Regions from separate parts of the Homo sapiens genome. Here all the other regions are linked to region 6. The links are contacts of gene promoters, found by promoter capture Hi-C in blood cells and fetal thymus (Javierre and others, 2016). All regions are on one chromosome and are shown on one strand. The core of a region is centred on a gene start or on the middle of the fragment in contact, and the rest is flanking DNA. Distances in the headings are between cores, read along the strand shown. Region 1 has its middle 8.0 kb from the start of RAP2A. Region 2 has its middle 10 kb from the start of MBNL2. Region 3 overlaps IPO5 (importin 5). Region 4 overlaps IPO5 (importin 5). Region 5 overlaps MBNL2 (muscleblind like splicing regulator 2). Region 6 holds the start of MIR17HG (miR-17-92a-1 cluster host gene). Region 7 overlaps RAP2A (RAP2A, member of RAS oncogene family).

Region 1 (3,490 bases), core at 819-3,318, 6.1 Mb before region 6:
TCATAAAATGTTTGTAAATAAATGAGCAATTGAGTGGACTATAATGTTGCTTCTAAAAACCCTGGGTTTTGAACACAGAGAAGATGAGAATAAAAGGAAAGGAATAAGGATTTTCCCCAAATCAAGGTGAGGTTGATGTAAATGTCCTCCAAAGTTGGTCTAATCTCCAAAGAAGCTTGTATCTCAAAAACAGTAAGTCTCCAACAGGCAAAGTCAATGGCAGTTTGTAGACCTGGAATTTAGGAGTGCCAGGAAAGATCTGAAAAATCATGTCTTCTATCAACTGACTGTTGTCTGAAATTCTGCACTTAGGTTTTAGTCTTTTGATGTAAAAGTTATTTTTTTCCAATTAAAATGTAAGTAGGAGATATACAGTTAAATTGTACCATCAGTCTGTCAACTTCGGGGCATGCAACTATGCTTACCTGGATGAAAAAGAAAATGAAGAAAGTAAAATAGAAGAACGTAGTTTAAATTGGGGGATAAGTCATGGCATGAGTATGTGCCCAGAGCGAGTATAAGAAGGCCATGGAAATCCACTGTATTTTTGTCATACACTTATTAATTTGTTTCAATAAGGTTAATCACTCCACATGGTGTAACAAGAAAAATAACAGCCTTTACAATTACTAGATTCTTAAACTTATTTCAAATACTTTTTAATTTTTATGAGATTATAAGAATTTTTTAAACTTTGAAGCTGCATGCCTTGTCTGATTCCTTCCATTTCTCTTCTGCTTCTCACATTATTGTGTTCAGCAATGGTTTGGAGGCATCTTGGGGAAGACAGAGCAGAGTTATGGTGTAAGGACCATCCAACTCTTCTCAGCAGCCATCCAGTTATCTTGTCAAGGGAAGTTACTCATCCTGCTCTCTAGAATTATCTCCTCAAAAATCGGTTTCCTGCTTTTCACAGAACAGTACACCATCTTTTACTATTATCCTAATTAATGCTTCTCACACAGCCTTACAAAATATTAGTCACTTAATTATTAACCACATTCATTGGGCTGCACTAGTTGAAAAAGATGTCTTGTTTACTTAGTCAAAGCGCTGTCTCTGTGCAATGGCATTGATGGTGAAATTGATCAGAGTCTACGTTTGAATGAGAGAAGCTGAGGGAGACATTTCAGAAATAGTAAGCCTTTTTATTTCCTTGGTGTACCAGGTAGTCAAGGAAAGTTAAAGTATTTTTTTATACTTTGTCTTGATTACATTCTTTTGGGGACTGGTCTCTGGTGTTAGGTTTTTAATAAAGATTTTGGCCATTTTCCATGCAAACTAATGTTTCCAATGAAAAGATACAACATTGCATGTAAATTACCTAAGAAATATTAATCTGTCAATGTAATTAAATTATATAAGCAACAATTAGTTTCAAAGCTGGAATGGATTAAGTCAGTTCTATACTGCACACTGACAAAGTGAAAGGAACTAAAATGGACAAATTGTGGTGCTGTAAGGTTATGATTCTTAAGATTTTTATATTAAAGTTGCAGAGTTTCAAAGTGCTCAGTGCTGCTCTTTACATTAGGGCTGTAGACTCTCTTAAGCCCGAGGATTCTATCTGGATATGTGATTGATAGGGTGGAGGCTGGGCTGAGGCTTAGTAAGACATTTAACCATGCTTTGTATAATACTCCTTAAATGTTGGCTCTCACAAACATAGAAATAGCGAACATTAACTAGCTCTCTGTTTCAATGTCTACCATCTACCTGTCAACTTAAAATCATGAAATCTATAAATTTGGAGAGGAGAGCTTTATTTCTTACCAAGAGTTGCAGCCAGCAGGGTGGCCATCCTAACTGGCTGGGAAGTGTAACCTCAGGCAGAGACCAAAAGCAAGTTATTCAAGGGAGGATGAGATAGGAATTTATGCTGAATGGATTGGCCAAGTATATTTATTTAACAGATTGTAGGAGGAGCTATACATATCCATGAAGAGGGGGCATGTGCATGAATAGTAAGCAAACATGGATGTTACATGCATCCCTTGTTCACTTTGGGGTGCAGACTTCACATTTAAATGCATTCCAATTAAGCCCTATATGTCAAAAGGTGAAGCAGGGACAGGAAGGCACTCAGTGCTCAGCCTCTGTAAACCAGACAGAACCAGAAGATGGTCAGTGGTCTCTTATCAGGAGAAAGTTACTGAAATCAGTCTTTTATCCAATCAAAGCTGTAGCTGTGGCTTGTGGAACAGAGGGGTCAGTTAGTCAGCATCTGGTGCTCAGTGAGCTACGATTGTTTCAATACTGCTTATCTTGAGGCCAGTGCTTGTTTAGCTGCTAGAGAATAAGAAAAACCTGTGGCAATTAGAGCATAGTTTATTCTATAAGGGTAGGGGTACGTGACTTCAGCTTTTTCTGGCATGGCCTTAGGTCTCATTTATTATTTGGTACTTTATTGCCACAAGGAGTCTGTTCCATTAGTCTTATGATCTCTATTTTAACATATCTATTTTGTTTTTTTCCTCCACTTGATTCCAGAAGGACTAAAGTACATTTCATAAATACATACAAGATAAATAAAAATAAGAAAACCTTCAATAAAAATGATCTATATTAATACATTTCCAGTTTTAGGGTCAAATAGATTGTTTCAAGAAACCTTAACATTATCTATTCAAAATAAGTTTTTTCAGAAACTGTGTTGCACATTGGTGTACATCTCTTTAAATAGATTTCACCTTGGCATTCACACTTTGTCTGGCTCTGTGTGTGTTAGGGTTGGGGTAGGGGGAGCATTGTTAATGCCCAAATCCTTCCCAAGTCTCATCAGTGAATAGTCTGGGGGAAGGAGGGTTGGGAATGTGTATATTGAACAAAATCCTCTAAATGATTCTGACTTGCCTCTGGGTTGAAAATCAATTTAACAATACTATGTGTTTTCTGAAGTAAAAGTCACACTTAAAGTAACTGGTGATCTTGGAAATTTTTACCAAGGATACTGACTAATGAGATGGCCTACCCCAAATCCAGAATTTAACTTAAATTCCACCTCCCCCTGTTTTCCTTAAACTAATCTCTCACCATATTTTCCAAAAATGTTATACTTTTCTTCTCATATGTACTGCAATTTGTCTTGCATTGTATTTATCTTTGTGATTTCAGCTAGTATATGGACTCATGGATGTCTGATGGGGAGGAGGGTGGAGAATCTATAAGTTTTTTCATCTTTCTAATCTTTATTATGCTTTAGTCAATAGTATATATTCAATAAATGCTGAATGAATTGGATTAAATATAAAACATTAAATGTTATGAAAAGTATGCTTAATTTTCAAATTATCAAATGATTCTCTCTATTGAAGGGAAATCAATGGTGTTTTTCAACTTTGAACTGAAACTCTAAACTATATGAAATCATAACAATGTGAAATTTTAAACAGTATTATTCTTCATAAAACAGTAATATAGGCTTTAATTCACAAGAACTGCAATGGGGTCTCATCCTTTAAGCAGTCATTTTTAATGTTCTAACCAAATC
Region 2 (3,380 bases), core at 309-2,808, 5.9 Mb before region 6:
TAGGAGTCTCTGTAGCAGTGGAAGTATGTGAGCCTGCTGCCTGATGAAGACATTGTCATCTCCAACAGGGAGTATGGAATGGACGTGGGGAATAGATGAAGCATATAGCATGTGTGTTATTGTAGTGTGATGACAATCTTGACTTTAAAAATTAAATGCAACTGGTTTTGATTTACTACAATATACCGTTCCTGAAGGAAAGACTTGTCAGTGCTCCTATTCCCCTCTCCATCTCTTTCTGTTTATTTTAGGATCACCACCCTACCTAGATCCACTTGTTCACTCATCTGATTAGGGTTTATCACGTGACTTGCTACATGTTGGTCCCAATTGAAACATTCATGATGTAAAGATAAGCAAGATGTAGATGGGACCCCGAGAATCTCACATTATTTCACATGATCCCCAAAGTGAGATCTCTGGGCACTCATCTCAAATGTTTCTGAAGAAAAGGACCCAGGGCTAAGTTTGGAAACCGTTGAAATCACTCATTAAATGTGTGTTTTTACCGAAGGACCTCTCAGAGCCTTGATTCTGGGAATGTGCATTGCAAATTTCCAAGACGGGGTTTTCTAGTTCACTGTGTCTGAGAATTAATTTTACCAGAGGCTCTTTTACTTAAAAAAAGAAATCTAACTAGTATGGTGTTCTTGGGGGTTTTATTTTGGAAAACTCTGGCCCAGGTAAAATGGTTTTTTTTTCCTGTTCATTAGACCGTGTCCATCTCTGCTTCTGCCTATCTTTCTTCACATTCAGAACTTCCCTCACTCTCTTCTGTCAACAACCATAGCTTCTAGATCTTTCTTTGTCACCTCTATTCAACCTCATTCAACTCAACCTCTTTTATTTGATGCTATATGTTCTTACTTGACTGAGGTCCTTAGCTTTACTAACTTGAGGCATCTAGCACACCTCAATGCTACTTTCTATTTGTTTCTCACAACCATGGTTATCTGGGAAGTCCCTGTGGCTCCAGGATCTCCTGTCTGGACCAGATCTTCACAGTAGCCTTTCTCCTCAGGCAAATCTTAGAGAAGATTTGCCCGGGTTTTTCTGACCAGTAGAGGGCCCTTGGTAGCTGTCTAGTGACCTATGGGCATAACTACCCTTCCAAAGCTTAACCCTGTCTAAATTCCATGTTTCAGCGAAAACATCAATTTCTGGAAAATGTGTTACTCATCTCTTTCCTCCATCAAATGCTACTCATGACAAGCACTTCTGGGGTGCTCACATAGTGTTGACGACAAAGAGAGACATCTATTTATTAAATATGTACATAGTGATTATACTGAGTCAAGCACAATGCTATTGTGTGAAATCCATGACACTATTATTATCTCAGGTTTACAGATGGGAAAACACCTGAATGATTAAGTAACCTTTCCAGGGTCGCACAGCTGGCAGGTGGTGCAGCCCATTTGCCCCAGGCAGGCTGGCTTCAGAGGCCATGTTCTCTACTGCGACACCTCACTGGCTCTAAATGTAATAGAAAAATTATATGGCAAATCAGAAGGTGCTAAGTGCAAAGAAAAAAGTAAAAGGAAAAGGAGAATTTGGGCCTGGTAGAGGGGATCAGGCAATCAGGTGGAGCTGGGAGGGGGTAGCTGTGGCTTCTACTGTGGGGGTAGCTGTGGCTTCTACCGTGGGGCCAGGACAGGCTCATGCAGAAAGCGCCCTCTGAACAGAGACATGTAGGGGTGAGGGAGTGTGTTTCCACTGTCAAATGAATAGAAATCTCTGGAGAAGTGTGTTCCAAGCAGAATATTCAAACCCCAGGAGCAATTCTGGAAAACGTTCATGTGGGAGGGACTTCTGCATGCAACCACTTTGGCCTCTAGTTTGCCTGAGTCCCACCCCTTGTTTCTGAATTCCACTGATACTGTTCTCTTTGTACAAAGGGCACCATTATCAAGAGCCATAGCACGGTGGCTTCTGCCTGTCTTTCTTCAAATCCAGGACTTTCCTCACTCTCTTCCCTCTATCAGCCACCATAAGCTTGGAGATCTTTCTTTGACACCTTTAGATATTTCCCCATCTCCCCTTTCCCTAAATCCAAAATACTGCTATCTCTTTCCCAGTAGATTCATCACACTAACTCATTCCGATATCCATTTAGATCTCGGCATATAGTCTTGATAAATTAAAATTTCAAACTTACGTAAAATGTTCTGCCTATTCTCCCAAGGACATGTGCTATGTTTTATAATGAAATTTTAATCTTTATTTTTAAAATAATTTGTGCAAAGAGAAGGCATCTGGCTTTGTTTTATCTGCTACAGAAAAGGGATCATGTCATGGGTATATTCTTTACCAGAAATGGGCAATTATTTTGCCTTCCAGCTGGATTAGAGAGAAAAACAGGCTCACCTTAGCAACAGCATTCTGATGCTGATGTCATCACCTCACATCATTTTGGTCTCATGTCACTGCATTCTTTCTCTAAAATCTCAAGCCACAGCTTTATAGATCTCTGCATTTAGAAGGCTTAATGAAAAAGGAAGAAATAACCATACTTAAATATTCACTGAGTCATTCTAATCTTGAACTCTGTTAGCAGGTCCCTTTTCCACAGCAAAACAAAATGAGAATTGTGCTTTTTCTACTCCAGTTTTTGCTGCAGCTTTGCCTGCAACCCTCGTCTCTCTCAAGCTCAGGCCCACACACTCCTGCTCTATACCCCCAACCCATGGGATTGCCAACCTCTCCAACAAGCCTAATCACTTACAAATAGAATGATTTTATTTCGCAAAGCAGTCCAATCCTGAGACGATTATGGTGAGCTTACAATCATGGATCCTAGGGCTAGAAGAAATCTTTCATCTACACCCTAGCTTCTTATTTGAAGATGAGGAAGCAGACAGCAAGACAAGGCTTACTTTTGTAAAAGACAGAAAAGATTTTAACTCCCTGGAAGTTTGTGGCTCCTCAAAATTTCAATGAGGATTCTCATAGGGTGTCAGATCATGCATCAAATGTTATGTACCTCACCCCTTCCCTCACCCCACCCAACCCCTGCCTTCCTCTCCCTGCTACCCTTTCACCACCCCTCTTCTCCATACACAAAAATCCCATATACCCAAGTCACTAAATCACAGCAGCCAGAAATCCTTCCCACACCAGGAACTGGACTGAGTCCCTTCCACTTAGAAGTTTCAATACTGACTTTGGTCTCACAGCAAATAACATTTAAAAAACTGAGCACTTTGGGAGGCCAAGGCGGGTGGATCACTTGCGGCCAGAAGTTTAAGACCAGCCTGGCCAATGTGGTGAAACTTATGCCTGTAACCCCAGCTACTTGGGAGGTTAAGGCATGAGAATCACTTGAACCTGGGAGGCAGAAGTTGCAGTAAGCCACGATTGCACCACTGCACTCCAGCCTG
Region 3 (3,562 bases), core at 796-3,295, 6.6 Mb before region 6:
GGAGAAGGTTGGAGAAGTTAGGCTTGTAAGACCTCTGTGAAAGCTTTTCTCAGCTGGGATAGAATTTGGTTTTGTCTGCCCTTTCTGGTTTGCAGAGTGCTGAATGCAAATAACATAAGATTCTCCCAAGTGAATAATCTAATTTTGTTTTAAGTTGTCTCGGGTCTCTATGACTCCTTATCTTGGTAGTTGTAAGCGCTATGCTCTTGATATCACAATTTATTATGAGGGTCAATTTAGATGGTATAAATCAAAGTGTTATAATCTGTAACTACACCAATGTAAGCTGATGGCATTATTATTTTTGTTAATAATTAACCTGGTACAATGAAAAAGAATGCTGGCTTTGTTTTCTCATCTGTAAAATTGGAATGATAGTTCTTCATAGGAGTGTTTTGAAAGTTAGGATAATATATGTAAATTCACATAGTATGGTGTCTGCATAAGTAGATACTCAATAATTATCTCTTTTATTAGTAAGATGGATTTGGGAGTTAAATGTGACCTTAAACAAGTAATTACTCTTTTTGTTTGTTTTTTTAGAGATGGGGTCTTGCTATATTGCCCAGGACAGTCTTGAACTCCTGGGCTCAAGCGATCCTCCTACCTCGGCCTCCCAAAGTGCTGGGGTTACAGGCTTGAGCCACCGCGCCTGGCCTTAAACAAGTAATTACTCTTAAGGCTGCAGCTGATGCATAGTCATGTGCATCACATTTGTGTTTATATAAAATCTACTTGCGTATTTTCTATTAGTCTCCCAATTGTGCAGAGTGAAATAGTGTATGGAATGGATTACAGATATTCAATAGACACTTGGCTGATAAGTAAGATTTCTGACTCTAATACTGATGTTTTCTGTTGCCTAGATAAGAGCCAGCAAAAAAAGTTTGAATGGTTGAAAAATTATTGAAAATATGCTGAAATATTCACATTTTTTTCAACTGCTTTTTATCAAAACTTTCAAGTTCCTGCTCTGAAGCAGTCTGTTACATACAGTCAGTGCACCTCAGCCAGGGGCAAGTGGGACCCTAACAATCCTGAAGGACACTGTGCACAATAGGCCCTCAGTAAATTGTGGAATGGAACACAGGCAGGGAAATTTTGACTTGATTGTTTTCTTTTGCGCCCTTTCTTAGTTTTATATTTGAGATTCAGTGGATATCTGCAGATGGAGGGACTCATTTTAGGGAGGCTGGGAGCAGAGGCTCCAGAGCCGGCCAATGTGCAAGTTCAAATGATAGCTTCACAGCCTACATGCTGTGTGATCTTGCCCAAGGTAACCTGTCTCAAGCCCAGTTTCTTCTTCTCTGAAATGGGTGTAATAGAAGTATTTTTTACTACTGATTAAAATACCTGGCAGTAGTGCCGGGCACAGAGTAAATGCTTAATAGATAGTGGCTGTGATTGCTAATACAGATTGCAACCTCTAAAATTTGTAACTTTAATTTTGATTGGACATCTACCTGTTAGACTATTGCATTTTTATATTCTCATTATATAAGTGGTCATGTTACAGGAATGCATCATAATTGTGGTTAAGAAAAAAATCAAGTTTGATTTGATTATCACAGAGCTATTAAAGGCTATTTCTGGCTTTCAATGCTACAGTTGCAATGCTCATTATGGTAGCCACTAGCCATTATGACTGTTGACCAATTGAAATATGGCGTGTTTGAACTGAGGTATGCTTTTTTCTTTTTTTTTGCGACGGAGTCCCACTCTGTCGCCCAGGCTGGAGTGCAGTGGCACGATTTCAGCTCACTGCAACCTCTGCCTCCCGGGTTCAAGCGATTCTCCTGCCTCAGCCCCCCAAGTAGCTGGGATTACAGGCGCCCGCCACCATGCCCGGCTAATTTTTTTTTATTTTTAGTAGAGACGGGGTTTCACCATCTTGGCCAGGCTTGTCTCGAACTCCTGACCTCGTGATCCACCCGCCTCGGCCTCCCAAAGTGCTGGGATTACAGGCGTGAGCCACTGAGCCTGGCCTGAGATATATTTTAAGTGTAAAATACACAGTAAATTTCAAAGACTTAGTAGGAAATTAAGAATAACAATTTTATATTGGTCACATGTAGAAATGTTAATATATTGTGTTAAATAAAATAGTTATATTTATTGATAAACTATTGTTAAATGTATTAATTTCACTTTTTTTTACTTGTTAAAAATATGGCTACTAGAAATTTTAAAATTGCATATGTGATTTGTATTTGTGGCTCATATTATATTTCGATTGGGCAGTGCTTTGCTGGAGAATAAAATAGCCAACTAGCTACACATAGGTGTCCTACATACTTTGTACATTGACATTTAGGAAGTGACTTTTGGCTGGGTGTGATGGCTCACGCCTGTAATCCCAGCACTTTGGGAGGCTGAGGTGGGAGGATTGCCTGAGACCAGGAGTTCGAGACCAGCCTGGGCAACATGGCGAGACCTTGTCTCTTTTAAAAAAAACAAAACAGGAAGTGACTTTTCCCCAGGTGAAATCAGTTACCTTATTGTGTTTTCTGTTGCTTCTAGTTTTCCAACTTGATCCTCAGGCATTTGAAGACATGCTGCAGTACTTTCTGAGCAGTGTTCCCTTAGGAATTTCTTTCCTCTGCTGATTTGACAGAAACAGAATGGTGGACCATTAGATGGTACTTAATTTTGAAGATGATATTCTTAAAAATCACATCTGATTTTGAAGAATAAATCCTTATCAGTTAAATCAAAGACTGGTTAAGAGTTGGAGAAAATAAAAATACCTTTTCTTGATGTTGTTTTCATTTAAAAGTGGTAAATGGATTTTTAAAAATCATTTGTTGCATTTTAATACCTGAAATAAAAATATACTTAGCAGAGGCCGGGTGCAGTGGCTCACGCCTATAATCCCAGCACTTTGGGAGGCCAAGGCAGGCGGATCACGAGGTCAGGAGATGGAGACCATCCTGGCTAACACGGTAAAACCCCGTCTCTACTAAAAATACAAAAAAATTAGCTGGGCGTGGTGGTGGGCACCTGTAGTCCCAGCTACTCGGGAGGCTGAAGCAGGAGAATGGTGTGAACCTGGGAGGCAGAGCTTGCGGTGAGCTGAGATCGCGCCACTGCTCACCAGCCTGGGTGACAGAGCGAGACTACGTATCAAAAAAAAAAAAAAAAAAAAAAAATATATATATATATATATATATACTTAGCAGAAAGATTTCATTTCTAAGTTAAATGATTTTTCTTAGAACACAAATAGGTTGAAAGTAAAAGGATAGAAAAAGACACACCATGCAAACAGTATTCAAAAGCAGATACGCAGCCTGGCCAACATAGAGAAAACCCGTTTTTACTAAAAATACAAACTTTAGCTAGGCGTAGTGGCAGGCGCCTGTAATCCCAGCACTTTGGGAGGCCAGGGTGGGTGGATCACTTGAGGTCGGGAGTTCAAGACCAGCCTGGCAAACATGGTGAAACCCCGTCTCTACTAAAAATACAAATGTTAGCTGGGTGTAGTGGCAGGCGGCTGTACTCTGTTACCTGGGAGGCTGAGATACGAGAACTGTTTGAACCTGGGAGGCAGAGGCTGTAATGA
Region 4 (3,587 bases), core at 745-3,244, 6.6 Mb before region 6:
ACTATAAATATTGTAAGAGACTAAAAATGTCTTTCAAAGGCAGTAAACATAAGCTTAATGGAGACTGAGATTTGCATGTTTTGTTCACTGCTGTATGCCTAGCGCCAGAACATAATAGGCAATATGAATTTATTGCATAAATGATTGAATGCATTAAAGAACCAAATAAGATATAATTATGATTTATTCTATATTGCTTTCATACCTGTAGGAATCCCGGTAGCAAGTCTGCAAAATGTTTGAACAGAGCAACATTATGCTCATTTGCAAGTATAAATGCAGCTGTAGCTCTAGCAGATAACGTCCTGATCTAAAATCAAGAGGAAAAAATGTCAAACATGAGAAATTTTTGATAAACGCAAATTCAAGTTTTCTTACTCAAGATCAAATTATTCTTTATCAGTAAAACTGGTGTTTGTATTTTAAAGTATAAAAGTGAAAACAACCTCCTAATATACTAATTTCTTTCGCAAATTAGATTAAAATAGATGGTTATATTAATAGGATTGAAATTATTTACCGACGGGTGTTCCTGATCTTGCATACACTGAACTAACATTCGTTTGATGACATCTAAATAGTGTTGTTGCTGGTTCCCAAAAATTCCAGGAAAGTTCCTAAAAGATAATCCAAACATTCTTTAAAAACTACATTATATTAATATCTTGGTAAAGTATGAGCTAGAATCTCTAATGAACTGTTTGTTTACCTGACTCAGTACGCATTAATCCATAGGTTGAACATCATCTACCCATTCTCTAAGCAATCCTGTTTTTGGGTTAAGTGAATGAAAACATACTGGAGAAGTCTGGGCTGGGAGTAGAGGCTACTCAGCAGCCCATTCCCAGCTACATGCTTTTATCCTTATTACTCTGTCTCAGTCGAAAGCTGACCTGGAGTGCAGGATGGGACAAGAGCAACCACAGGTTTTCAGATGAAAACTACAAGAACTATGCTCTCCGGCCATCTGCATTCTCTAATCTGAATTACTGATATAAACAAAGATATATATGACAACTAAAGTACAAAATGATACAAAGCCTAAAATGTGTATGATCTTGAGCACATTTTAGGTGTAGTAAAAAAATATAGCACAGTGGGGCAAAGAATAATCACTTAATTCTAAACTTAGACTATTTGGTTATAAATATACAGGTTTCTTAACATATTATAAAATTGGGTCACACAAGACCCAGAAAACATAATGGGGATTCACCTGCATTCTCCTTCTCCTCTTCAAGACACCATTATTAATGTGGCTTTTGAAAAGCTACATCCAGTATTGTGTTAATCTCCAAATAAAGGAGAGGAAACTGTTCAATAAAACTTTCAGAATCATAAAAGACAAAGAGAAAGCAAGCAAGCTGTAGAGAACCTTTGTGTACAAAAAAGATCATAATGTGAAATAAAAGGCCCTTTTAAAAAAAATTGCTTCCAATACAAATACAAACAAAACTTATGTAAAGGCATTATTATCATTTTAAGTATAAGGTTAAATTAGGCTAAAATAATCAGTTAAAAGGTGTTTAGGGCATTCATTAAATCAAATGTCTCAAAAAACTAGATTAATGTATATACCAGAAAATGTGAAGGGCAGCTTCCCGCAGTCCCACATTTTGAGAGCTGACTGAATCAAAAAGGAACTTCAAACCTTCGGGCCACTGGTTATTGCCATCCTCATCTGAAAGTAAAGAAATCCAGACATAAAGTTGTGTAAGTCAGAACTTCAATATACTAGGAGTAAATCCTTTCATTTCATAAGCCTCATTCAAACCTGGAGTAGTGAAAAATGTCACTTTTGCTATTTTTAAAAACTCCACAAAATTCTGTCCTTTAGCCATAAAAATGGCATCACAATCATGTTAAAAAAAAAAAAAGACCAAACAAACCAACAAACCAAACAACTCTGTATTTGGGTTAGATAATCAGATATTAACAGAGGTTCTTCTTTTTTTTAGATGGAGTTTCACTTTTTTACCCAGGCTGGAGTGCAATGGCGCGATCTCGGTTGACTGCAACCTCTGCCTCCAGGGTTCAAGCAATTCTCCTGCCTCAGCCTCCCGAGTAGCTGGGATTACAGGCGCCTGCCACCATGCCTGACTAATTTTTGTATTTTTAGTAGAGACGAGGTTTGGCCATGATGGCCAGGCTGGTCTCAAACTCCTGACCTTGGGTGATCCACTTGCCTTGGCCTTCCAAAGTACTAGGATTACAGGCGTGAGCCACCGCACCTGGCTGGCAGAGGTTATTTCTAAGGAGTGGAATTTGAAGAGAAGGCAGCACTTTTAACTGTACAAATATCTGATTGACTGACTCCTTTATATATACCATTGCTATTAAAGAGTTGAAAAAGTAGGCAAAGCTAGTATTTGGTGGCAAGGTCTTGAAACCAAAGTAACAACTACTTTGGAACTTGAGAAGACATCAGGGTTAGAATCTCAGGACCCATACAGGGTGCTCACACTTTGCAGTTTGGTTCAAATAGTGCCAGAGGATGTTATTAATATGTTTACTATTTAACAAGATTAAGAGATTTTAAATAATACTTTATAATAAAAATGAGTGACCACAAAAATCTACTGTGCCACTTATAAGACTCTGGTTATATTGTCACAAAGACCTTAAGAGTTATACAACTTACAGATGAATTACAGATGTTTTCTTTTTAAACGTCCCCCGATATTTGAACTTTTGTGAAATGACAATTGTGCTGCTAAGCTGACATTAAATGTTTCTTCAACCTAAAGATGATGCTTTGAGGGGAAATAAAATAGCAGCTTAAAAAAAAAAAATCTATGAGAGCACTTTGAATACTTTGGAAAGGTTTGCATTGTTAAGTGTTTCTGAATGAGAAATGATGTCACCTATAACAATTCCTATCTGCATACTTAAAACTGGAAAGTAGAATTTTCTAAACAATTTAAAAATATTCAAAATTAGGGCTGGGCGCTGTGGCTCATGCCTCTAATCTCAGCACTTTGGGAGGCCAAGGTGGGCAGACCATTTGAGGTCAGGCATTTGAGACCAGGCTGGCAAACAGGGTGAAACCCAGTTGGCTCCATCTCTACTAAAAAAATACAAAAATTAGCTGGGCGTGTGGGAGGCTGAGGCAGGAGAATCACCTAAACTTGGGAGGTGGAGGCTGCGGTAAGCCATGATCACACCACTGTACTCAAGCCTGGGCAACAGAACAAAACTGTCTAAAAAAATTAATTTGAACTCATCTAAAATATAAAGAATTGACACATTCCCCATTAGTTTCTAAGAAATGGTTGACATAAGAAAGGATACAATCTGCTAGCTGAATTGAACAAGGACTTACTGTATTACTGGTTGATGAGATTTTAAAATTAGTGTCATAATGTAGTAAGCTCAATCAATAGTAATCTCCCATGTAACCTTGATCTTCATTTCAACTATTAAAAATGCCATCTAAACAAGCTGCGCTTACAACCACACTTATAAATCCCTGTCTAAAAAAAAAAAAAAAGTGGTGGCTACACTCTCTTCTACGAGCAGGAAGTATGAAGATGAGTGGGACAAAACCCAAGACACCATGGAAGCTGTCATGGCCCTGGAGAAGAACT
Region 5 (3,401 bases), core at 494-2,993, 5.9 Mb before region 6:
ATCCTACCATCTTGAGTTTTACCCCTTATTCTGTAACCTTGGCAAGTAACTTGGTCTCTCTAAGCTTCATTTTCTTCATGAAAAGGTTTAACTGAGTTGATATACAGGAAGCTATCAGCAGAGGAGGACTTTCCATATAGTAAGTGCTCAATAAATTCAATAAATGTTAGTTCTGTTTCATTCCTAAAAGGTTATTGGTAAATTAAAAATGCATAAAAATACCGGCCATCTGTGTGTGGACTAAATGAGCATCTGGGTAGGGAACACTTCCTCTAAATCAGTTTAGCTTGACTCCTGGTTCTAGGAAAGAGGGGGCCACATGTGGGACACACAGGAAAACAAGGCATCTGAAAGGAGGGAGGACAGACAGGGGCACGAGATGGATGACCTATAACAAGGTATGAGACTCAACAATCAGGCCTGGGCATTTCACTTAAGCTACTTCGTTAGACAGCTGTCTCTTCTCATAATGTCTTCGTTTCTATTACAAGACTTTAAAACTAGCATTTTTTAAATAAATGCGATGTTAATGGCATATAACCCTTCCTCTCTATCCTTCACATTCTTTGGAGATGAGGAGGAGAGAATGGCGCTATCTACATCTTAGGGAATGAATGTGTCAGAGCTCCTGGACCTAATTCACCAAGGATGTGAGGATGCAAGTAGGCACATCAGACTTCTGGGCTCCAGTTCTGACCACCATCCAGAAGAAAAGGAATCTAAGGCCGGTTTATAATGCATATATTCCTTAGGATAATAAAAAAAAAAACAACTCTGGAGCAGACAGATAAACACAACAGCCTTCCCTGGAGGCAGTAACCAAATCTCTTGGGGAACTTGTGAGAGTCTGTGTCCACTGAGAAGATAGACGTCTCGGGAATGGGGAGATAGCCAGAGACAGGCTGTGTGTAGTCACAGAACTGCTTGCAGCTGCTGAAGTCCCTGGCTTCATGCCTTCAGCCCCAGCCACATTGGTGCAAGGCTGGTGGGATATATCAGTTCAACCTCAGCTTCACTCTGAGGCTGAACAGCCTGGAAAGACCTGCTGTGTGGAGGAGGTAGGTCCCAGTCTCCAGACTGCCAGAAGATCCTCCAAGGAGCCATCCCAGACCCAGTGATCTGCTGCCACTCACATTGTGGCAGTGACACTTCCAAAGCAGCTATTGTATTCTGGAGCCTCCTGGATGAACATCAGCTTTATCACCTGGAGCCTGTTACAAATGTAGAATCTTGACCTCAGCCCAGCCCTACTGAATCAGAGTCTACATTTTTAATGAGATCCCCAGGTGATTCGCAGGCACATGAGAGTTTGAGAAGTGCTGTCTGGTTACTTATGGTAGGTGTCTGGTGTGACGGCATCAATCTATTTGCATACTTCAAGTACTTTCTCATCATGAAAGGCTATTTTCTTCAGAGAAGTCCTTATGGCTGGGTTCAATTGAGAACTGCTAGAATCAGAAATAAATGAATCCCCAGGGTCTTTGAGAACAGGATGACAAGTGTCAAGTGATATCTCCAATCACTCTGGAATTACTGTTCTAACCAGTAACATCCCCAAAATATATACATTTTGAGAGATGGATGCAGAAGTATTGATAATTATTGGTTTTTAAATACTCTCTCTGCTTATTAGTGAAGATCGACTTTTAAAAAGTCAACTGTATATACGAGAGATACAGCTACAAAGGTTCCCTTAACTATCTAATATTCTGTGGCTCTAAACAAGATTCTGAACCAATATTTGCCCCAAAAGGACCACAGCCAGAAACCCTTGCCAGAGAGGAAAAGCTATGTGCAGGAGAGTAGTTCAACCCAGGAGACTACACTGTTTTCTTATGGAATCCTGGAGATTAGGCTATGGTGCTTAATAGTATTGGTTGTTCATTTTTTAAAAACAATTTTGCTCCTTTGTGGGTATTTATTTTTCTGATTCTTTGCTAGCTCTTATTCTCTTTTGGGCCCTTGCCATGTTCCCCAAGATTCATCCTTTGTCATTGCCTATCTCTGTTCACGCTGCCTTCTTTCACGAGGTGTGAGCACCAATGGCTTCAACTACGGCTTCAACACAGGTGTGTCTGAGCTTGTATTTGTAGCCTGTTGTCCAGGCTGTTCTTCATTCCCACATTGTCAAATGTTTATGAGACATCTCCACTTAGATGTTTCATCATTAGCTAAAAACACCATTCTCAAGTCTAAAAACTCATCATCGCCCACCCTCCTTCAACCCTATTCCCATTTATTGGTCCCTTTTTCAGACCACTCCCATTTCTGTCAGGGTACCATTGATATCACTCCTCCTAGAATTTCTGCAATGGCGTGACCTCAGCTCACCGCAACCTCTGCCTCCTGGGTTCAAGGGATTACCTTGACTCAGCCTCCCGAGTAGCTGGGATCACAGGCATGTGCCACCACATCCGGCTAATTTTTCTATTTTTAGTACAGATGGGGTTTCACCATGTTGGTCAGGCTGCTCTCAAACTCCCAACCTCAGGTGATCCACCCACCTTGGCCTACCAAAGTGCTGGGATTACAGGCGTGAGCCACTGTGCCTGGCCCAGTTTCACTCTTCTAAGCTCTCACTGCGTTCTATTATTTTTCCTTCAAGATGCCTTTTGGATTTGCCCTTTCTCCTTCATTTGTCATGCTAATGCAACCCTTTTCCACTTTGTACCTGGAATATTGTGAAAGTTTTCTAGCCGGTGACATCACTAGTTACAAATGTTCTGACCTCTAACCCTATCTTACAAGTCCCAATTGAATCTTTATAAAGCATTAGATGTGATGTTATAGGTAATGAAATTAAACTCTTCCACAGGGCCCTTCAGCTCATTCATATCCTGACTCCACCCCCTCCATCTAACTTTATTCCCCACTGCACCCTAACACTTCATCTCCATCTCCAAGGTCAAGGTTCCTTCCTGGCCACTATACCACATCATGCTATTCCTCCTTCCTGAGATTTTGACCACTGGCCTCTCCAAACATTTTTGATCATACATTCTTATCAGAATGTTTTTTTTTAGATCAGAAACAACCACTAAGGATGGTTACTTTATAAATATTATTCTTGCATAACCCTGCTAATATGTTACACACATTATCAAACATCCATGAAAACTGACATTTTTAAAGGATGAGCTAAATAATATATAAGATGGAAGTTCACCTATTTCCTTGCCAAGTGAATAATCTTGCCCTTGGCCCGGGGTGTGGACATACCACATTAGAGACATGGATCCAGACCAAATACATCCATTCAGACCCAGAGGAGGCAGCTCTTCCTGTGGGAAGCCTTATCTCTTACTCCCACCCAAACTGAGCTCCACTTTCCTGAACTCTGAGAACACTGAAAATTATATGTAGTAAATCATTTAGACAATATATATTGCATCAATACTTTA
Region 6 (3,393 bases), core at 518-3,017:
TAAAATACTTGATTATGATCAGCAGCAATCACCGACTCCACTGTACAGCTCCAGTAAAAGGAAAAAAAAAAAGCAGCCCACAGACTATTCTTCACCACCCCTCCCCCAATCAAGACCTCGTGGCTGCAAGCCGGGATAAAGAGTTGTTTCTCCAACTGCTGTGGTCCTGATGGCATGCCGTTAATTTTCTCTTTTGGTGATATTGCAACGACGAGCCTGCCTTTTTCAGTTCCTTTTCCCTTTGCTGCAGTTTAGGAACAGAAGACCGGGCAGGAACACCCGAGACTGCAAAGTGCCCGCCACGCTCATGGAGCCCGGGCCGGCAGCACATGTCGCACAAGGGGGAGCGCGGCCCTGCGATTCTCCGCGTAGCCGCCAGGGGGCGGCGGGTCAGAGTCAGGCCCCGCCGGACGCGGCAACCCCCCCAACCCGTTTCCCGGCGGCAGCCGCGCGGCGACCGGCGGCGCCGAGGCCCGAGTGCGGCGGGGACGCGGGCGCGCCGCCCCTCCTTTGTGTCCCCCAGCCCCCCCGAGCCCGGCCCAGAGGGGCGGGGGCTCCGCGGCCGCGGTGCCCGTCGCACGCGGCCCGAGGCCTAAGCCGGGAACAATCGGCGGCGGCGCGCAGTCGCCGCCATGTCCCCCGCCCTCACCCCCGTGCAGCCCGCCCCGCAGGAACATGGCGGCGGGGACGCCGCTCCCGCCGAGCCGGGCTGGCCCTCCCGCGCCACACTCCCAGCAAGCGGCCGGGCGCAGGCGGCTCCACGCCGCGGCTGAGGCCGACTGCGGCCTCCTCCGAGGGCCACGGCGGGGAAGTTGCGGGCCCCGCCCCGAGGCTGCCCACGCGGGCTAACAAAGCCCACGCGGAGCGGGGGTGGCGCCCAGGCCGCGCCGATCTCGGCGCCCCTCCGCCCACCCTCGCGCGTACAAAGTTTGGGGAACCGCGGGCTCCCGCCCACGCCACGCCGCCCGCTGGCGCGCAGGTACCTCGTGGGCGCGCCCCCTCCCGGCCCGCGGCCTGCCCCATGTGCCGCCGCCGCCGCCGCTTTGTTCTGGAGGCGCTTTAACTCTCGCCCTCGGGAGAAACTTTCCTACCCAGAGACCCCACGCCCCGCGCGCGCCCCGGGCCCCGGAGAAGGCACGGGCCTCGCACGTCCTCTCCCCGAGGGGCCATTGTGTTCGCCGTCCGCCCACCCGCCTTCGGGTCGGCCCAGGCAGGGTCTGCGCGGGTCCCGGGCGCGGCCGCCACGCGCACGCCGCCCCCTCCCACCCTCCCGCCCCGGCCCTGCCCCCCTCCGCCGGCCCGCGGGCGAGCGAGGGGGCAGCCAGATGCGGCTGCCACACGCCGGGGCGGCCAACGGCCGAGACCCGCCCCGGCCACGCCGCCGCCGCCACGCTGCCCCGGGCCAGTCCGCCCCGGGCCGCTCCGCCCCGCCCGCCAGACCCGGGCCGCACACAACAGGTTTCCCTCCGTCGCCGGAGGGGCGGGCAGACTCACCAGGAGGAGTAGCCGCCACCATCTTCGGCTGGCCGGCCGCGGGCTCCTGCTCCCGCCTCCCCGCCCGCCTGCGCTTTACTACGACCGGAGGCCCCAGGCCGGGGGTGCGGCCGGCCGGCCCGCCCCGCGAGGAGAGCTTCGCGGAGGAGCGCGAGCCCCGGCGGCGCTGCGGTAGTCGTCCCCACCCCCTCGGCCTCGCCCGAGGGCGCGAAGTGGCGCGAAGGCGCAGGTCGGGCGGCGGCGGCGGCACCTCGAAGGACCATGTGGGTGAATGAAGGGCGGCGGCTCCCGCCTCAACGTAAATACGGACAAGCCCCACTCCCTCATTAGCATAAAAAACAAAGTACTTCCGACCTCCCCGCCCGCCCGCCAATCACCGCAGGCCCCGCCCACGGCGGCTCGTTCTTGGCGGCCGGGAGAGCGGGAGCCGGGAGCCGCTGGCGGCGCCGCGCAGCCTTCCCCGGGCCGCGCTCCCCCGTGGCCCGCCCACCGCCGCCAGCCTCGCGGAGCGCCTCGCCCGAACACCTCGCGCCACGCCTCCGGCACGCCCTCCGTTAACAAGCTCTGCGCGCGTGCAGACCCCCGCGCGCCGCACACCCTCCTGGAAGCGCACGCTTCCCGGGGCTTCCTGGGAGCCCTGCTCTCCCTGGGACTCGACGTGTACGCTGTGCGATCACAGTTTATTACTTTACCGGCCCTTGGTGGGTTTCCGAGGTAATTAGGGGCCTGCTCCAGGCCAACCGGAACCAGAGAAGTAAAATCCAGTGACTTTAACATCGAAACAGAATTACTCGCTGCAAAGATCGTTTGAGACCCAGAAATAAATACATTACACCCGACACTCTTGTGAATGCACACTTCGTGGCAATGTGTTTCCTTAACCTGGCCGCGTGTAAACCAAAACGCATGCCCGAGCAGAGGTTTCACAGCTGCAGTACCTGAGCCTCCCCTCTCATGCCCAGCTGCATTTAGTAAGAACTCTGGGTTCTCCAGTAGAAATAGCATAGCTCGGAAAGAACCTCATAAACAACCACAAAGCTGAGAAAAGAAGCCCAATCAGGAGCACCTCCTTCTTCACATTGTGGTTCAGGAAATTCCGGAATTCTCAGAAACATAATTGTTAAAAGTGAGGATTCATAACATTTACGAGAAATACAGCAATTATAAATTGGTTTAAATCTAGTAAGTAGCTACTGCAAAGCACATATCACTGGTTCGTGATTGTACAAGTCAACTGTAAAACACACATTACCAAAGGATGTCTTTAATGCCCCAATGTTAAAATTTTTGACATTCAAACCTTGACAGTATTGTCATTTACTGTCTTTGACTTATTTTATCATGCTTTGCTTAAATCCAATTGTCAAACTAGTGATGACATAAAAAATAGTGGATTAAAGTTTTGCTACTCTTTTTTTTATTGAGTCTAGTTTCTAGATATTCCTTTCTTTGTAAATCAAAATAAAAGGCCAAATCTGAAATTTTACAATATCTAATATTTCTGTAATATAGTCATTTATGAACGTTTCAAAGAGGAAAACACTGCTAATTTTATTACAAGTCTAATTTTACGTTACTTTTGGTCGGCATTGACTAATATGTCAATGCCTTTTTCTTTAAAACTTTATCTTCTGTTTCAAATTAGAATGGTTGAGGCGGGGGGATGTTGTGAGTAAGATTGTTCATCACACTCTCTGAATCATGGGAAATCCCACCTATATACAGGTTTCTTAGCAGGAGTTATTCATCTCATAGTTTCCTTCCAATTAAAGTCAACATTGAAATACTACTAGCTTTAAAAAGCTGTTTTTAGGTATCTCACTATATTTCTGTGGAAATCTGACATACAAGCAACTATTTTCTGTGACTACAGTATAAGAAATAATTCTTAATGTATAC
Region 7 (3,231 bases), core at 601-3,100, 6.1 Mb before region 6:
GAAAGCAATGGGAAAAACAGAAATGTTATACTATACTAGGTATATAATTCATCTCAATATAGTAAGACAATTGAGCCTAATTCCTAAGAAGTCACGTGGCAGTATACAGATAAAAGGCTGGGTTTCATTCCTATTTCTGTGATTCTTGGTGAAACTTTATTATTAATATTTTAGGTTCACTATGTAAAGAAACACTTTACGTTCGTTATCTCACGAGTTACTACATCATACTCATATTACAAATGAGGAAATTAAAATGCAAGGAATGTCAACTTGCTCCTAATTACATAACTAATAAGTGCTGGATCTCAGCTTTAATGAGATTAACATTCGCTGTCTTCATGGATGAGAAGATAAGTATATACAATAAAATACTCCATTCGAGAATTATAATACATACAGTATTCATAATGTTCATTGGAAACCTAAAGATGAATTAATTTAGGACCAGGGGCAGTGGCTCAGGCCTGTAATCCCAGTGCTTTGGGCAGTTGAGGTAGTCGGAACACTTGAGGCCAGGAGTTTGAGACCAGCCTGGGCAAAATAACAAGATCCCATCTCTAGAAAAAATTTTTAAAGAATTACTTGGATGCGGTGGTGCCTGCTCTGTAGTCCTAGCTATTCAGATGGCTGAGGCAGAAGGGTTGCTTGAGCCCAGGAGTTAGAGGCTGCAGTAAGCTCTGATGGCGCCGCTGCACTCCAGCCTGGGCAACAGAACAAGACCCTGTCTCTTAAAATACTCTAAGATTTCATTTACAGAGAGAGAGCTGTAAAGATACTTAGTAGAGAAAATACTAATATGCATTGAATTATTAATATAGTATTTCCACATTTGAATTATTAATTTCTAAGGGTCAGGAAAGCATGAGAACACTCCTAAATGTTTTAAATAAAGGTTTTTCAATGTTTCTCTTGGGTAACTTTACTAAGTGATTTTAAGATATTTATAGTTTTACTGTCTTACAGGGAGAGGTGAATCAGTGTTATCCTGGATAGATGCAGCAGACCTCTATTTTGAGTTTTCTGAACCTCCTCAGCAACTGTTCTTGAAATAGATAATCCCGCACTCATGTATTCAAGTCTGAATACTACCACAACCTCCCTTTCTCTGTTCTAAGTTTTCACAAGGCAAAAGTTATCTTGAATTACTAGAATGAACAACATTACATGAGAAATACATTCTCATATTTCTAATATGCACAACAGAGATAAATGCTTTCTCAAAAGATATGCTATATCTTTTTGTTCAGTGACTAAATGCTATCTTTCTCTGAATTACAGGTAGTATTTACTAACTCACATTGGGAAGTACTTCATTTTCGTAATCTTACACAGCATTGCTGGGAACCAGAAAAGCAGGAGAGAGAAGATGAAATATTAAACAGATAGTTACATTTAGTTTTCTTAGAGTAAAAATGTCCTAGGATAGCAGTTTCCAAGCTATGTGTGATAAAATCAATTTGGTGGGTCATGAAAAGCACTTAAAAACAACGAAATAAAATAGAAAAAAATAAATAGAAAAAGTAATACAAGCAACATAGCAAGTTTACTGTCTTATGAAATGTTGATTTCGGCTAGATGTATTTATTCCTATGTGTGCACTAAGTCACAATATAAAATGTACTTCTTACTGAGGGCCCTGGTTAAGAAAATGTGAAATCCCCTGCTGAGTGGATCTATAAAAATAGAGATAGTTATTAATTTTTTCCAATATTTGGCTTTTTGACAGATAACAATTTAAAAATAAAAATTATAAGTCACCTTATTTCTCCCTAAATATAAATTTTGGTATGTTTTAAAATCTTAAATGTATTAGAGAAATAAAAAACAAAAACAAATCCCCATCTATACAATTATGCCAGAGAAAGAATTTAATACATACCATGACAAAATCTTAGCTAGATTATGTATTAGAATCTTCAAATATTGTTTTTAGTTATTTTGATTACTTTAAATTTTACTAATATATTTATGCTTTATTTAACATACTTGACTGAAATGCAGATGTCCACAATTACAGCATTACTATTATTGATATTACTCTACTAAAAGGCTGAGTTTGATCTGGTAAAGCAGAAAGGATGTTTAAGAAATTAAACTTCTCTCTGTCAGGCTGAGAATAATTTTTAATGATATGAACCACAAGTGTCAAAGTAACAAATGAAATGGCAATATATAATATATGGCATATTTCTGCACACCATTAAAATTTCAAGATAAATTTCCTACATAAACACAATATCTATACATTTCCTTTAGTAACTATTCAGTCACCATCAGTTTTACCTTGTTTGAAAGTCTGCTCGTATTCAAACTCTTATTACTCCAAAAAAACTTAGAGTACTTAAAACTCTTTTTACAACATAGGCCTGAAAAATATAAGTGTGTAAAAAAACAGTAGGTAAGAATAGATGGAGAGAAACAGAAAACAGGGAAAAATCAAAACAGAAGCAAAGAAAACCCCAGAGTAAGGCATACATGCTCCCCTAGGCAGTAAGGTTCTAAAGACAATGACTAAAAGAGAACTGAAAAGAAAAAAATACCCCTGAAAAAAAATTCCCTTAAGTACAGTGTACTTGGTTTTATGTAAAGATCCTTGCTTAAAAATATGTACATATACATGCATAATATATGCACCTTATTGTGCCATATGTAATTTCCCAGAACTTCACACACAGAAATTAAATCACTCAAGTATATTGCTACTGAAACTTTAGCAAATAGATTCCAACTTTGTTGGCTCTTCCTGTTGGCTGTGAAATCCAGTGATTTTTCTTAGTTCCTCTACCTCTTCCTTAATGTTTAATAATTTAAATTATTTTTGCCCTCCATTAAAAAATAAGTATTAGTATAATTATTCCTTATTGTAGATTTTATTGATACAATTATCAAATCTTAACTAGACAAAATTGTGGGTCACAGGCTGCTGATTCTTTAAGGTTCATATTAAACTTGACCCCTTCCCTCATCACCCCGGCCAGACAAAAGTGCTCTCACAGAATGTTAGAGAGGAAGAGACATCATCTCCTCCAACTCCAAATTGAGCTTTAAAAATTACAATCCTGGAGTGGCAAAAAGAAAACTATATACTGTAACCTGTAATTTTACAATGCAGCCAAAACAAAAGTTTCCTTTTCAGGAAAAACTTCTGGGCCACATAAAGTGATTCACTGTATGAAGTTCAGTTATGCAAGATAAGTAAGTCCCAGACATCTGTATGGTAATAGTACT

What was found. Contacts are between HindIII fragments. The CHiCAGO score rates a contact against its expected background, and 5 or more counts as called.
Region 1: a fragment that was not itself captured here is called in contact with the fragment with the promoter of MIR17HG in region 6 in 2 of 17 cell types (activated CD4 T cells and naive CD8 T cells); the score reaches 7.2 in activated CD4 T cells.
Region 2: a contact is called between a fragment that was not itself captured here and the fragment with the promoter of MIR17HG in region 6, in 1 of 17 cell types (non-activated CD4 T cells). The highest score is 6.0, in non-activated CD4 T cells.
Region 3: a fragment that was not itself captured here is called in contact with the fragment with the promoter of MIR17HG in region 6 in 1 of 17 cell types (M0 macrophages); the score reaches 5.4 in M0 macrophages.
Region 4: a fragment that was not itself captured here is called in contact with the fragment with the promoter of MIR17HG in region 6 in 1 of 17 cell types (naive CD8 T cells); the score reaches 5.5 in naive CD8 T cells.
Region 5: a fragment that was not itself captured here is called in contact with the fragment with the promoter of MIR17HG in region 6 in 1 of 17 cell types (total CD8 T cells); the score reaches 5.2 in total CD8 T cells.
Region 7: a fragment that was not itself captured here is called in contact with the fragment with the promoter of MIR17HG in region 6 in 1 of 17 cell types (fetal thymus); the score reaches 6.5 in fetal thymus.

The regions. Positions count from the first base shown.
Region 1 is chr13:97,424,465-97,427,954 of GRCh38, reverse strand. No RefSeq gene overlaps it. Among named protein-coding and RNA genes, the nearest start is that of RAP2A, 8.0 kb to the left of the region's middle. The HindIII fragment of the contact is 3,782 bases long and covers 178-3,490 here.
Region 2 is chr13:97,210,635-97,214,014 of GRCh38, reverse strand. It overlaps a transcript of MBNL2 not described here. Among named protein-coding and RNA genes, the nearest start is that of MBNL2, 10 kb to the left of the region's middle. The HindIII fragment of the contact is 879 bases long and covers 1,119-1,997 here.
Region 3 is chr13:97,968,763-97,972,324 of GRCh38, reverse strand. IPO5 (importin 5) reads right to left here. Exons shown (of 29, transcript NM_002271.6): 3 at 2,495-2,602. Among named protein-coding and RNA genes, the nearest start is that of IPO5, 17 kb to the right of the region's middle. The HindIII fragment of the contact is 4,000 bases long and covers 46-3,562 here.
Region 4 is chr13:97,987,156-97,990,742 of GRCh38, reverse strand. It overlaps IPO5 (importin 5), which reads right to left. Exons shown (of 29, transcript NM_002271.6): 7 at 1,579-1,681; 8 at 521-617; 9 at 206-310. It also overlaps the pseudogene FTLP8. Among named protein-coding and RNA genes, the nearest start is that of IPO5, 35 kb to the right of the region's middle. The HindIII fragment of the contact is 3,878 bases long and covers 56-3,587 here.
Region 5 is chr13:97,229,170-97,232,570 of GRCh38, reverse strand. All of the region lies in intron 1 of MBNL2 (muscleblind like splicing regulator 2), which reads right to left. Among named protein-coding and RNA genes, the nearest start is that of MBNL2, 8.5 kb to the right of the region's middle. The HindIII fragment of the contact is 3,354 bases long and covers 67-3,401 here.
Region 6 is chr13:91,346,061-91,349,453 of GRCh38, reverse strand. MIR17HG (miR-17-92a-1 cluster host gene) reads right to left here and starts at 1,767. Exons shown (of 3, transcript NR_197388.1): 1 at 1,495-1,767. RefSeq lists enhancers at 1-181, 182-729, 2,199-2,278 and silencers at 279-1,268, 1,319-2,098. The HindIII fragment of the contact is 6,871 bases long and covers 1-3,393 here.
Region 7 is chr13:97,440,906-97,444,136 of GRCh38, reverse strand. The region is part of intron 1 of RAP2A (RAP2A, member of RAS oncogene family); the gene reads right to left. Among named protein-coding and RNA genes, the nearest start is that of RAP2A, 8.4 kb to the right of the region's middle. The HindIII fragment of the contact is 7,461 bases long and covers 1-3,231 here.